4 separate regions of the Homo sapiens genome follow, and all the other regions are linked to region 1. The links are contacts of gene promoters, found by promoter capture Hi-C in blood cells and fetal thymus (Javierre and others, 2016). All regions are on one chromosome and are shown on one strand. The core of a region is centred on a gene start or on the middle of the fragment in contact, and the rest is flanking DNA. Distances in the headings are between cores, read along the strand shown.

Evidence for each region. Contacts are between HindIII fragments. The CHiCAGO score rates a contact against its expected background, and 5 or more counts as called.
Region 2: a contact is called between a fragment that was not itself captured here and the fragment with the promoter of GALNT4 in region 1, in 1 of 17 cell types (total B cells). The highest score is 6.6, in total B cells.
Region 3: a fragment that was not itself captured here is called in contact with the fragment with the promoter of GALNT4 in region 1 in 1 of 17 cell types (naive CD4 T cells); the score reaches 5.4 in naive CD4 T cells.
Region 4: a fragment that was not itself captured here is called in contact with the fragment with the promoter of GALNT4 in region 1 in 1 of 17 cell types (total CD8 T cells); the score reaches 6.4 in total CD8 T cells.

What each region holds. Positions count from the first base shown.
Region 1 is chr12:89,523,546-89,527,274 of GRCh38, reverse strand. GALNT4 (polypeptide N-acetylgalactosaminyltransferase 4) reads left to right here and starts at 2,479. Exons shown (of 1, transcript NM_003774.5): 1 at 2,479-3,729. The coding sequence starts at 2,726. POC1B-DUSP6 (POC1B-DUSP6 readthrough) reads left to right here and starts at 1,228. Exons shown (of 11, transcript NR_189589.1): 1 at 1,228-1,394; 2 at 2,071-2,155. POC1B (POC1 centriolar protein B) reads left to right here and starts at 1,228. Exons shown (of 12, transcript NM_172240.3): 1 at 1,228-1,394; 2 at 2,071-2,155. The coding sequence starts at 1,380. POC1B-GALNT4 (POC1B-GALNT4 readthrough) reads left to right here and starts at 1,013. Exons shown (of 3, transcript NM_001199782.1): 1 at 1,013-1,394; 2 at 2,071-2,155; 3 at 3,602-3,729. The coding sequence starts at 1,120. It also overlaps POC1B-AS1. RefSeq lists silencers at 1,273-1,532, 2,083-2,462 and an enhancer at 2,553-2,762. The HindIII fragment of the contact is 3,011 bases long and covers 930-3,729 here.
Region 2 is chr12:90,256,571-90,260,299 of GRCh38, reverse strand. All of the region lies in intron 2 of LOC105369892 (a long non-coding RNA gene), which reads right to left. Among named protein-coding and RNA genes, the nearest start is that of LINC02392, 35 kb to the left of the region's middle. The HindIII fragment of the contact is 2,808 bases long and covers 207-3,014 here.
Region 3 is chr12:90,079,671-90,083,399 of GRCh38, reverse strand. The region is part of intron 10 of LOC105369890 (a long non-coding RNA gene); the gene reads right to left. Among named protein-coding and RNA genes, the nearest start is that of LINC02399, 130 kb to the right of the region's middle. The HindIII fragment of the contact is 229 bases long and covers 1,801-2,029 here.
Region 4 is chr12:90,057,942-90,061,670 of GRCh38, reverse strand. All of the region lies in intron 8 of LOC105369890 (a long non-coding RNA gene), which reads right to left. Among named protein-coding and RNA genes, the nearest start is that of LINC02399, 110 kb to the right of the region's middle. The HindIII fragment of the contact is 593 bases long and covers 1,839-2,431 here.

The DNA of each region.
Region 1 (3,729 bases), core at 1,230-3,729:
TTGTATATGTTGATTCAGCATCTCTGGAAATGGAGCCCCCAAATCAACATTACAAATGCTAAAGCATGAGACTCACCAACCCTAGATTGCTGAGTTCTTGAAGGTAGGGGAAATATCTTAGTCATCATTGTGTCCCTCAAGGCCAAACATACAACAGATATTTAACAAGTGTATACTTAAATTAACTAATACTGTAATCTAAAGCCTACCTGTTTAGTTGTTAAGTACCATATTCAATAAAATTAAACTCAATCACTAGACAACTAGGGAATCTGTAATTAAGGTGTGTAGCATACCTTTCATTTGCATAAAACACATGTCTTACCAGCTGTGTTCTATCATGCCCTTTGATGTTGCTAAGGATCTTTACACTATATGTAATTTTCAGCTCAGAACATCACGCTTTGAGGCAGGGTTAAAAAAAAAAAAAGGATATGGACTTGGAATTAGAAGAACTGTCTCTGTGTGACCTCTAAGACCAATATCTAGGAATCAAGTTTATAACTTGGAAACATTGAAAACATTTTGTAATTCTACCAACTTCATTGTTTGGCTGAAGCACAAATGATACTATGTGTAACAAAGCCTGCTGTAGAAACGTGGTCTCACAAAAAACAAACAAAAAAAACCATGTTTCCAAGTCTTCCTAAAGACTTTAAGTATCCAGCTGTGTAAGTTTAGTGCTCTAAGGTATACGCAAATAAGCAGATGAGAATGGAAACATATCGCAGAAAATTATTAAGTGCATGCACAACATTTATTCATTCATTCACTCATTCATTCATCACGCACATCCAGCAACTATATCAATATCCTGCAGGGCACTGTGTGGAAAACAGTGGTTAAATAAATTCAAATCTGCCCTCAGGGGATTTAGTTCCTTTTAGTATATTAATAACTAGCAAGCTGCCCCTCTTCATGTCAAAGCTTTACGTCAACAAAATAAGCGGTAGGGGATCACCTTAAACGTCACGGGTGCTGTCTCTTTAAAACGTAATAGAACTCTGATCGCATCGATCACAGGCTCACAACGCCCTTCCATTCATCGCTCTTATTCCAGTCCTGGTTACTACCCCACTTCCTGACATCAAACCAGGGAGAACGCGAGTGTTAGTTAACATGGCTTGGTGTGTGGCCACAGCTGACCCGGCGCATACCTCCCGTCCTCTCTTTACAGGGCTGGCGGTGTCTCGGGGCTCGGCTGGCCATGCCTGGAGCGCGGGGTTTGACTGGGCCGCCGTTGTTGTAGTGACCGGGAGGCGCTGCCGCTCTGGGCAGACGGTTCCGGGAGCCGCACGGTCCCCTCTCCTTCCCCATCCTCTCCCCTCCCCTCTCCGGGTTCCCCCACCCACAGGAGCCTTGGGCCGACCACTCCCCCGATGGCCTCAGCCACGGTAAGGACGGGTTGGAGGTGGGGGGGGTCCCTCCCTGGAGCCTGTCCCGCGGGCTGCGGGGCCAGGTCCGGGCCGAAGCCGCACCTGGAGGGAGATGGAGGCAGGTGTCCGTAGCCGGGTCCTGAGCCCCTCGTCCCGGGGCGTCCGTATCTCACTCTCTGCCATCGGGGCGGACGGAGTGCGGAACCCAGACCCGGCTCCCGGACGCTCTTCCCCGAGTTCCGGAGCTCCGGACTGAGCTGGGCGGCCCCACGGCCCCCAGAATTCTCGGAGGGTTTCCGTGGAGCGCCTGCGTCAGAATCACCTAGGAAGTATTAAAAAAAAAAAAAGTACCAAAGCCGAGGCGCATCCTCGCACCTGCCTGCCTTGGGCCAGCGGGCGGGGCCCGGGAACGTGCATTTCAAAGGGGCCGCGGTTCCTGCGATGCGCTGGACTCTGGGAAGCGCGAACAGAGCGTTTTGCGGGCTCTGCGGGGAGAGCTGGCGCCGGCGTCTCCCTGTAGCAGGACTGGGCGCCGCGCCCGTGGGTGGGCTGCTGCCCGGCCCCGCCGCCCAGCCAAGCCGCCGCCTGGGTGGCCATTCCCAAGCCGGACTCCGGGGAAGTGGCAGCGTGGATCCCAGCCGCCAGAATTCGAGGTCTGCGGCGGCTTTCAAAACTTGACAACTTTCCTTTCCAGGAGGACCCCGTTCTGGAGCGTTATTTCAAAGGCCACAAAGCTGCGATCACCTCCTTGGACCTCAGCCCCAACGGCAAGCAACTTGGTAAGTCTTATTCTTGTTTTGCTTTTGTAATGAGACTAAACTCCATGGGCCGGAAACCTTTCCTCCTGTCCGGGCAGGGTCCCTAGGAGAACGGCTAAGGGCCTGTATGAGGGTTGAGAGCACCCGGAGACGAGGGCCCAGCGCGGCGGGGCGCAGCTAGGGCCCCCTCTGCCATCCCGGCCCCCAGCCCCCGGCCCGGCCAAGAGCCTCCTATCCAGCGGTCTGGGCCTGGCGGACGACTTTCGCAAACTAACCACCAGGAGGAGTGAGTGGGAAGGGGAGGGGTTTCTCCTCGGCCCGGGGAGGGTGGGGTGTTGGCTGGAGAGTTTGTGAAAAGTTGTGAGCCGAGCAGGAGGAAGTAGGGAGAGAGGAGTTGGGCTGTGCCGGAGGCCGAGGACCGAGAGGGCTCAGGTGACCCCTGGAAAGCCTGGGTGGCTGGAAAGGAGCCTAGCGCCTGCATGAAAGGAAGAACCTGCTGGGAAGTACCTGAGCTCGAGCTGTGGGTTCCGCCGCCCTTCCCCTGCGTGGTGGCTTGGTGGCCGCGTCTGCGCCTCAGCCCTGAGAATCCGGATGGCGGTGAGGTGGACTTGGGCAGGCAAGAGCTGCCTGCTGCTGGCGTTTTTAACAGTGGCCTATATCTTCGTGGAGCTCTTGGTCTCTACTTTTCATGCCTCCGCAGGAGCCGGCCGTGCCAGGGAGCTGGGGTCAAGAAGGCTCTCAGACCTCCAGAAAAATACGGAGGATTTGTCTCGACCGCTTTATAAGAAGCCCCCTGCAGATTCCCGTGCACTTGGGGAGTGGGGGAAAGCCAGCAAACTCCAGCTCAACGAGGATGAACTGAAGCAGCAAGAAGAACTCATTGAGAGATACGCCATCAATATTTACCTCAGTGACAGGATTTCCCTGCATCGACACATAGAGGATAAAAGAATGTATGAGTGTAAGTCCCAGAAGTTCAACTATAGGACACTTCCTACCACCTCTGTTATCATTGCTTTCTATAACGAAGCCTGGTCGACTTTGCTCCGTACCATTCACAGTGTTTTAGAAACTTCTCCTGCAGTTCTTTTGAAAGAGATCATCTTGGTGGATGACTTGAGTGACAGAGTTTATTTGAAGACACAACTTGAAACTTACATCAGCAATCTTGATAGAGTACGCTTGATTAGGACCAATAAGCGAGAGGGGCTGGTTAGGGCCCGTCTGATTGGGGCCACTTTCGCCACTGGGGACGTCCTCACTTTCCTGGATTGTCACTGTGAGTGTAATTCCGGTTGGCTGGAACCGCTTTTGGAAAGGATTGGGAGAGATGAAACAGCAGTTGTGTGTCCTGTTATAGACACAATTGATTGGAATACTTTTGAATTCTATATGCAGATAGGGGAGCCCATGATTGGTGGGTTTGACTGGCGTTTAACATTTCAGTGGCATTCTGTCCCCAAACAGGAAAGGGACAGGCGGATATCAAGAATTGACCCCATCAGATCACCTACCATGGCTGGAGGACTGTTTGCTGTCAGCAAGAAATATTTTCAGTACCTTGGAACGTATGACACAGGAATGGAAGTGTGGGG
Region 2 (3,729 bases), core at 361-2,860, 730 kb before region 1:
CTAGGCTTGCATATTTGTCAGGGCACTTACATCCTGGACAGCACTCCAGTGCAAAATTGACCAAAAAATCAGGTAAGGCAGGCACTCACACAGCCCATCTGGTAAAGCATCCACCCTAGAGTCTGATGTGTCTCTAGACCTGGGTATCTCCACCCCATGAAGTGTACCTGACAATTCCCCACGGACTGGAAAGAGAGAATGAAGCTTATGTTTATATTTTTTAATTTTTATTTATTTATTTATTTATTTTGAGATGGAGTCTTGCTCTGTCGCCCAGGCTGGAGTGCAGTGGCGAGATCTGAGCTCACTGCAAGTTCCGCCTCCCAGGTTCACGCCATTCTCCTGCCTCAGCCTCCCAAGTAGCTGGGACTACAGGCGCCCGCCACCATGCCCGGCTAATTTTTTTTATTTTTAGTAGAGACGGGGTTTCACCATGTTAGCCAGGATGATCTCAATCTCCTGACTTCATGATCCTCCCGCCTCAGCCTCCCAAATATGTTTATATTTCATCACATTATTTTAAATCAATATTTTACGTGTGTTTGAAAATGTGCATAATACACTGGAACACTAGATTGCATATCAAATAATAAGTAAATATACATATAGGGAAGAATGCTTAATTTTTTATTGGTAAGAAGACATGCAATCTAAAAAGTTTGGACACAGCTGTTCTAGATTGCCCCCTTTCCCCAGCCAAATGTTCATTAAAAAGGCAAGGCCTCAGAAAGACATGACTGCCATAACAGCCCTCTAAATGTCAGCAAACCTGCTGATTGAGGACAGAGATTAGACTAAGGTTACCATAGGGCAGAGGGAAGGAAAAAGGAAGGAAGGGAGAAATGGGAAATGGAAGTCCCTTTCTTCAGATGACATCTTTCTCCAATAATAAACCTTTAAACCAGAGCCCAAACTATCCACCTTCCTCATCCTCGACTCTCTGACATACCCCACCTAATTTGGTGTGAACCACGGTAACTCTCATCTAATATCTGTTAAACCCAGGAACAAGATCCAGGGTAAAGGGTGCCATCTTGGGAGGGTGTGTGTAGTGAGTCAAAGAGACCAAATATACTCAGGAAAATGCAATGGCAAGATTCAGGAACATGCAGCTGCAGAGTGTGGTCCTCAGGTAGTTTGTCTGAAAGGTGTCCATGAGCAGAGGACACTGACCTCAAAATTGAAAAACAAGGCCAGGGCCAGGCATGGTGGCTCACACCTGTAATCCCAGCACTTTGGGGCAGATCACCTGACGTCAGGAGTTCAAGACCAGCTTGGCCAACATGGTGAAACCCTGTCTCTACAAAAAATACAAAAATTAGCCGGGTGTGATGGTGGATGCCTGTAATCCCAGCTACTCGGGAAGCTGAGGCAGGAGAATTACTTGAACCTGGGTGGCAGAGGTTGCAGTGAGCCGAGATGCTGCCATTGCACTCCAGCCTGGGCAACAGAGTGAGACTCTGTCACAAAAAAAAAAAAAAAAAAAAAAAAGGAAATAAAGAAAAACAAGGCCAGGCACAGTGGCTCACACCTGTAATCCCAACACTTTGGGAAGCTAAGGTGTGTGGATCTCTTGACCTCAGGAGTTCAAGACCAGCCTTGGCAACATGGTGAAACCCTGTCTATACCAAAACATACAAAAATTAGCTGCTGTGATGGCATGTGCCTGTAGTCCCAGCTACTTGGCGGGGCTGAGGCTGGAGGATCACATGAACCTGGAAGGTTGAGGCTGCAGTGAGTCGTGTTCATGCCACTTCACTCTGGCTGGACAACAAAGTGAGATCCTGTCTCAAAAAAAAGAGAAAAAACCAAGAGCTCAAGTTCAAGATCACAGGTTGTAAAGAGCACAGATTGTAGACAGGTGAACCCCAGGCCAAGTCCAGCCTGTAAACATGATTTGTTTGGTCATAGGTCATAGGTCTTTTTTAAAATTTTGAACTGGTTGTAAGCATTTGCAACTTGGGTGATTTTATACAGAAAATGTTTACATTTATGGCTTTTCTTTATAAAAGACAGATCTGAAAGCATTGTACCCACATTCCTGAATAGCCATCATGGGCTGAGGACAAGTTTTGTGCTTCCTAAACAAGGAGGGCAGAGGCTGTCATTGTCATTGCGTCCCTGCAAGGACTGCTGCACGCAGCTATGCTTGTTTCCATTGCTCTAGACTCACAGAGCAGCAACACAGAAAGCTGAGAGAGGTCAGGAAGGCAAAAAGAAACCAAGGATGAGCAGGTCATTCTCATACCTCCTCTCCCTGACATCATTGCTGCCATGTGCCAGGCACTGCCCTAGGAATCAGCAGCAGGAAGAATCTAAAGCAATCAGAAAAGATGAGGTGCCTGCTTCTATTGAACATATATTCTAGTTGAGAAAACTGGATAATAAATCAATAAATATCAGATATCAGGGACAATAATATCTAATATATTTCTAATGCTGTAATGAGCCAGTCACCATTCTCTCTCTTATGTGGTTTGTGTTCTTTTACACATATGAATTCCCGCAGAAACCTCATGAAAGATAATTAATTACATCCTATTTACAAATAGGAAATTGAATAGTGGAGACAAGCAACTTTGATAAAGTCATACAACTACTCCGTGGTGGAGTAATAATGGGTCCCAGCAGTCTGGCTTCAGAAGCAAGGCATTTAACCCCCGTGCCACATCATTAAGTATCAAGCAGAGTGTTAAAATGGACTGATATAAAAGAGAGGGACTTACCAGACAGCTACTTTAGATTTGTAGATCAAGAAAAGCCTTTCTCTGGAGGTGATATTTAAGCTGAGATCTAAAGGACACAACTATGCAAAAACTAGAATAACATAGTAGGCAAAGGGAAAAACTAATGTAAAGGACTAAAGTTGGAAAGAGCTTGGCTTGTTAGGGACCTGGTGACCAGCATGGCTGTAGCTTGATGGGAGGGTGAGAGGGTTAGAATTACAAAATGACATTGAAGAGGAAAGCATAGGCCACATTCTCTCTGGGCTTCTCATGTAAGGAAATGAAGCTTAGACTTTATTTCATTTGGGAGCCACTGGAGGGTTATAGATTGAAGGGTGCCATAATTGGATTTGCATTCCAAAAACTTTGTAACCACATTTACCTGGGCCCTTTATAAACTGACCTTAATGTACATTTCTAGATTCCTCTATTGTTTTTTTTCCTTCATACATTTTGTCTTGTAACTCCAGTATTCCAGTACCTAGTGTTGTGCTGGAAAACCAACTCTGTGGAAACAAAACCCTGTTTTGTAGCTGTAGCCAATTTCGGTGGTGTAAATACTTCCACGATAGCTCATTTCAAGCTATCAACAATTTAACAGCTAACTTGCAAAATTCCTGAATATTTAACAATCAGCTCTTGAGAGTCCATTTCAGCAGGACTCAACCCAAATATCTTGACCTTCTGAAGCTCAACAGGTCTTTACATGACATGCCTTTCAGTATCCTGTGTTTTTTGCCTGCAAAACCTAGCCATTATAGAGCTGATGGTTATAAAAACAGAATCTTTGGATTCAGATGGACATGGATTCGAACTTCAGCTTTGTAAATCAGTCATGTGATCTTAGGAAAAGGCCCTAACTCTCTAAACCTCTGTTATCCCATTTATAATATAGGAGTGGTAACAGTTCCTACTTCAGGGTGTTGTTACACAAGAATCAAATAATATTTAAGAAGCATTCAGCAGAGTACTTGAGATATTATTTTATGTACTTCATAAGAAC
Region 3 (3,729 bases), core at 666-3,165, 560 kb before region 1:
ATTTAGTTCAATTAAACAAATATTTAAGTACCAGCAAGGTGTCAGTCACTGTCTGAAGAACTAGGGATATAACGACGTATAGGATCAGGTCCATTATTTAAGGAACTTACAGCTGTTTGGTGCAAGCAGACACTTGTATGTGCATTCAAATATTCAATTGGCAAACTATTTTTTTAGTGACTACTATGTACCACGCACATCTTAGGGGCGTAGCAAACAAAAATCAATGTAGCATCATAAGTTCTATGCTAGCAGTGAGAATAAAATACCATGACAGCACAGAGAAGAGAGTTATGGCTGCCATGATGGGATCATGGAACGCTTCAGCAACTGTTAACATCAGAGGCCTGGCTACTAGTACTGCATCTCACACTTACCAGCTGTGTGACTTTGGACAAGTTTCAAATCACCATCACCCACTGCAATATTGTTAGAAGATGCAGATTTTGTTAATCCTATGAGAATTCTAATAATAGTGCATGCACATCCAAATTCATAGATTAAAACCATTGGAGAAGCAATCCTTTTTACTCCTCTACCCACAAGGGTGACTCTGTAATATTTTTCAAATATAAGACAGTCTACAATTGAGCAACCACTCTATGTAGATCACAGTTTTAGATAACCAGGGTTGAGGACCTAGGGTACATGTAAAGGAAATAGAATACCTGCTCTCTGCCCATCAACCACAGTGATGACAAGCCAATAAACATAATTATGCTGGACATTACTTAATGGGCACTCCATAGCTATTCACTCCCACAACTGTTTATGGTACATTCAAGTGAGTGAATACAAATTTTGCTATTTTGTAGAGGGATAGAGTGTTGAAACTGCTTAAATATTATCTAATCTAACTCCTTCAAACTGAGAGAAAAAGAAGTTGAATGATATTCCCAAATCATAGAACTAGCTAATAAAGTATCTAACATTAATGGCTACTCAACTCAGGCAAGTAGATGATCAGGTTTTGACAGGGAGTTAAAAAGAAAAAGATGATATTCTGCTCCTATGAAAATAGTATGATGATATAGCATTAAGGGAAAGTGTCTCTTGGGACAAAAGTAGGTGATGAGAAATCTAATTACACACACGCACACACACACACATTAGCTTTCAACACTGATAACCCACCTGCTTCTTAAAAATTTTAAAGAAAATATTGAGTGCAAGAGAAGTAGCTCTCAAACTTACACGTTTTCATTTAACAGATAGTTGACTTTTCTACCTTTACAGGAAGGCAACACAATTTCTTCTCCATGCCTGACATGTTACCAGTTCATGACTAAATAATGAATAAATAGCTGCAGACAAGTAATTCTCAAGGGGGCCTCAAGGTACATCTTAGATGTTTGTGTTAATAAGTCTAGTTTCAAAGTAGAACTGGCAATCTCAAAAGAAATCGTTCTGAGCAATTCAAATCTCCAGCCATTGCAACAGGCAGCTCTTCACAAGTGTTTTGTTAATTCTAACCATGATCATATAATGCAAAATGGGATATGGGCATAACAATCTATTTTGGTTGAACATTTCAAAGAATGGCCAAATGTGGCTCATGATGCTGTATTTTACCTACAAAAATTCAAACTAATTATTGCCTCTAATCACACCAGCTCTTCAGCAAAACTAATATTAGAAAACTCTTCATCAGTGTTCCATCTTTCCTGTTTTGCCACATATTTGCAACTTTTCATCAGAAGACCTTTGCTTATTCTATATGTGATGGCAGAAGGGAGAATCAAAGGGTAGATGAGAAGCCTGTAATACCCACTGGGATTCAACTCTTGTTTATGCAAAGCTTGCAATAACTCACCTGTTGGTTAATATAGTTGTTCATTTCTCCCATCATGTGATATTCAAATATGGTGTTTGTGTGTGTGTGTGTGTGTGTGCGTGTGTGTGTGTGTCTGTGTGTTGGGAACTGAAGGCGAGAAGAAGAAAGACAAGTGGTGATGGTAGAATTTAAAAGTAGAATCCTAAAAGGTATGTCTTAAATAATAAAAGCGATTTATATAAAAGTGATAAAGCTTGGTCATGTCTCACCCATTTATAAATGAGTTGAAAGGAGTCCAGAAACCTCAGTGACTTTCCCGGCACAAAATGGACAAATGAACTGTAAGAATTAATGTTTATTATCTCCAGTATTATGAATCACCCTTATACATAATGACTTATCAATTTGTACTTAATTGGCAGCTTTACAGATGTTTTGGATTTACTTTGGCAAATGCTTCATTATTCTAACTACATGATTAGCTCCTACCAGTCACAGTCGATTTGCCCTGTTTTCGCTATTTTTTCTACATGAAGTTTGGGCTTCTAATAAACCCATTGCCCAAGTGGTGAACATAGTACCCAACAGGTAGTTTTTCAACCCTTTCCCTACTCCTTCCCTCCCTCTTTTGGAATTCCCAGCGTTTATTGTTCCCATCTCTGTGTCCCTGTGTACCCATTGTTTGGCTCTCACTTACATGTGAGAACATGTGGTATTTGGATTTCTGTTTCTACACTAATTCACTTAGGATTATAGCCTCCAGCTGCATCTATGTTGCTGCTACAAAGGACATGATCTCATTCTTTGTATGCCTGTGTGATATTCCATGGTGTATATGCACCACATTTTCTTTATCTGATCCACCATTCATGGGGATCTAGTATCAGAGATTATAATGGAAATCTACTTTCTTGACAGATAACAGTTCTGATTCACACCTATTTTATCAGAACATACCATCAGAAAATTCTTCACCTCTCTTCTCAAATGAAATTCTAAAATATTCTACATTTCTGAACTTGCCCTTCTCATTTTTTCTCAGCCTTAAGGATTTTTATTTTGAATACCATAAAGCAGCATTGGACTAAGAGTGAGAAAACATCAGTTAAGTCTTGCTTCTATCTATCTTGGACACTGGAGAAATCTCAGTAAGCCAGTAAGCATGTGCCTTATTCAAGGACTGATGGATGAATTAGCAACTGGGTGGATGAATGTCACCATTTACTCATCCACTTCAGATGGATCGCTGGTCTTTGGAAACTTGATTCCTTCAGGTTTGTAGTCTGTTATCTTAAATTTGTTATAATCTGTTATAATCTGTTATCTTAAAATTAAGAGAAATATTGGGTACTTATACTGTGCCAGGTATTTAAAAGGTATTTTAAATATATAGAGCCGTAAATATACAGATAATTATATGGTTATAATTGAGTCATTAAAACAATTACCATTAACCTCATTTTACATCAGAGGAAAACTGAAATTCATGAATACTTTGTAACTGGCCCAAAGTCACATAGTGGGAAAGTGGCAGAACTTATTTACAATCCCAGTTCTCTGGGATTGAATGCTCTGACCTCTTTGTCACATGACTTCTCATTGTCCTTCTCGTTCTTTATCTCTGTGTGAACTCTGTGCCGCCAATCGGTGCTTGCTTTAAGGTAAAGAATGCATTAAATCTTAGTAGCTTCAAATGCTTTGCAGTGTCTTTAAAGAAAGCATGCAGAATTCAGAAGAGGTAGGGACTATTTTTTATAATTAACAAGCCAAAGGAATAGTTGTGTTACCGAGGACACAGATAGGTATCTCAATTAAAAAGAAAAATTATAGTCCTTCTAAATGTTCATTCACAGTAGACACTTTGGAATGTCTTGCTGAATGGCATTTAAAACTCTGCATAGAGTTATAAATCATGCTTCAAGAGACTTTCCTTCTATCTCTCTGATTCACTGGAC
Region 4 (3,729 bases), core at 886-3,385, 530 kb before region 1:
GCAGGCATTTCTCGATTGTGTTTAAGAGAGAAAGAGAGAGAGAGAGAACCCGTGATCTGTGAACATACTCTTAAGTGATACAATCAAAGCTCTGGTGCTGCTTTATTTAAGTTTACCACAGAACTCAGTAAGATATATGATGCCTCTATTATTTAGCCCCTATCCAAAGCCACGTTATGGCCATCATTTCCTAAAATATTCTTAAAAATTCATTGTCATTAACAGATATGTAATAATCACTTATGTAAGGCACTATGTTAGGTAACAAGGTAGCAATTGGATGTGGGAAGGCCCCAGTCAAAGAAAAGTAAAAGCTGCAGCATTTTAACAACCCAAATTTTAGGGTTAATTGCCAACGTGTAATCTAAACATTGCCCTGTTATTAACATAAGCTGCAGCTTCATAGAAACTTAATTCTCCAGGCACAAATCCATTATTCTATCTACTGCCTCCTTATCACCTGCCACCAATATTGGTCTCCTTGATGGCATAGTTTTAGTGTTTTGCACTGAAATTATCCCTAACTTGAGCCATCTAAACAAGTCTTACAACTTTCCTCTCAGTCTTACAACTTTCCTCATTGTTGTTTCAAATCTTATATAACTTAATCAATTCCATCTTATTGAAGCTGCTATAGACATTCTTCCTTCTATGCGGTTTCCTCACTACAGAATATACCATGTGAAGTTTTAGACTGACTAAATTCTTTTAATGTAAAGAGACCGTTGGCGAGTACGGTGGCTTACGCCTGTAATCCCAGCATTTTGGGAGGCCAAGCCAGGCAGATCACTTGAGCTCAGGAGTTTGAGACCAGCCTGGCCAACATGGTGAAACTCCATCTCTACTAAAAATACAAAAATTAGCCAGGCATGGTGGTGCATGCCTGTAGTCCCAGCTACTCGGAGGCTGAGACACAAGAATTGCTTGAACCCAGGAGGCAGAGGTTGCAGTGAGCCAAGATAGCACTACTGTGCTCCAGCCTGGGCAACAGAGTGAGACTCTGTCTCAAAAAAAAAAAAAAAACACTCATCTTTTCTGATATATTTATAGGGACTGCCATGAAACTGCTATACAAGTCTCTATTATTATCAATGGTAGAGTATTATCTGCTCACAATAATACTAATAAATAATTTTAGAAAATCAGTTCTATTTTCATGCAGGTAGAGCCATCCCTTTATAGATTAATTTACTGGGTAGGACATTTGCAGGGACTGCTGTTTATTGCTGATAAATATAGCTTGCTTATTTAAGCTCTTTACCTTGTTCTAACCCTGCTGAGAGATCTTCTGAAGCAAGAAGCTTTAGAATGGCACAGGCAGGTAATGGGCTGACAGCACTGGACAACCTCTTATTGGAGGCACCATGATAGGTAATTAAGCAACCACCGTCACTCAAGGTCAAATGATCCTTAATCTAAAAACAATCTCTAAATGACATAAGAACAGCTTTAACCATAACATCCACTGCATTTGAGGTCCTATTTCATCTATCTGCAGAGCAAAGTCAGTAATATGAGACTCATAAACCAAGCAGGGTTGCAAATCCTCTTATGCTACCCACAAGAAATGAAGGGAGTGGGGGAAAGCATTGTTTTGAAATTTCACTTATGCAAAGAAATGAGAAAATAGTTCATAAGATGATTGTTCTGTGTAAGCAGTGGTCAAATAATGTTATTTGATGGAAATTGTTTTCTTTGCTTGCTTCCTGAACCCTCCATTTAACATTTCTAGGAAATCATTCTGATGGAAAAGGTCAAATATATACAAAAATAAAATTAGGCCTATTAATCATATTTTGTAATTGGATAACTTGAACATTTTTATTCAAAGAGAAGCTTCCTAATTCTACCCTATACCTTTAGTTCCTCAGAATTTAAAACAGAAATTAACTTCAATGACTCACATTTCTGTATGGAGTTTTATGCCTCAGAATATGTTATACTTATATTTATTTGTGTAACTAAAGGGAAGAAGCAATTATTTGGATAATGTTAAAAAAACTGGAATTTTAACTTCAGTTTGTCAGAGACAAAAGCACTGCAGATTTAATTCTTCTCAAACTTTAATGTGAATACAAATCACCTGGGTATCTTGGTAAAATGCAGATTCCAGTGTAGCAGGTTTGGCGTAAGGCCTGAAAACCAGCATTTCTAACAGGCAACCAAGTGACACCTATTCTCAATCAAGGTTCACACTCTGAACAGTAAGATTATAGAATTTTCTATTATACCTGCAGGGTTTCTAAAGAGCGGATAATGATAGGACAAGTGAAAAATTAATTTTTTAGATCTATTTTCTTATCCTCCACTTTCATTTGCATACATAGACATATCTAATGTTTTAAAATCAACTAATGAATGTGGTTTATCCTTTTGAATGCGTAAAATGATACAAATGCAAAATGATCACTATTATGATTTGTATTAAGCTTTGTATCAACATCTAATGCACTTCTTATTAATTCATGGACTACTAATTTAATCTTCTTACTGTGATCAGTCAACAAGTAAACCATTCTCAGACTGTTGAGGAAATGCAAATTTTAATATAACCAATCAAAACATTCAGTTAGGTTACACTGAATAGTTTATAACTAGTAGAGTAAAAAGATTGTTTTAAATTGGAAATGCACTAAAAGTAACATTTTCTTTGTTGAGCTAAAAAATTAGCATATTTACTTAAAATGCTGACTCAGACCTTGGCCAGGCCATTGACTTCACTGAGGAGTTCAAACTGTGTTAAAGCTTTTAATAAAACTCTGGGGGAAATTCCACTGCTACACAATGAAATTCCATTACGTATGACTTATTTTTGGCTCCCCAGTTGATAATAAAACATATTAAATGGCATTTCCCTTTATTTTTTTCCTGAGGCTCAGTTTTTATACCACTATGTATTCTTCAAGAATGTTTTAACTTAAAAGTATTTTTTATTTTGTTCTTCAAGAAGTACTAAGATATGTAAATTTTGTTATTGTAATTATGTCATAGTGGATCAAAAATTATGTATTGGCAATTACCCTGCTTAACAATTGCCAAAAATATTCTACTGTTTATGGTGTTGAAATGCCAAGGAAGAACTTTATGCAGAAAAGATTCACATTTCTGAAGTGTTGAACATAGTTAGTAACCAATATGTATTTTTGTGCGACCCTGATCCTTCAATGGTTGTTTGAGGATTACTGCAATGGGTCTAAAGACTATCAACTTTAAGAGAAGAAATAACATACATTAAAAAAAAAGTCAGGCCGGGTACCCTGGCTCACTCCTGTAATCCCAGCTCTTCGGGAGGCCAAGGCAAGTGGATCACGAGGCCAGGAGTTCAAGCCCAGCTGGCCAACGTGGTGAAATCCTGTCTCTACTAAAAACACAAAAACTAGCTGGGTGTGGTGACACTTGCCTGTAGTCCCAGGTATTCAGGAGACTAAGGCATGAGAATCGCTTGAACTTGGGAGGTGGAGGTTGCAGTAAGCCAAGATCACACCACTGCACTCCAGCCTGGGTGACAGAGCAAGACTCAGTATCAAAAAAAAAGGAAAGAGAAAAATGTCAGGTTTAATGTTTTTATTTATATCAAGTAGCTATTACACAGTAGACCCTTAATAAAAGTTTGATCATCATATGAATTATAAAATTAACATTTATAGTAAGTTTTACAGTTAGTTTCTCTCACAAAACCAGGTTTAATAGGTAAGAAACACACAAAAAATGTTACCCAGATCCCGTCAA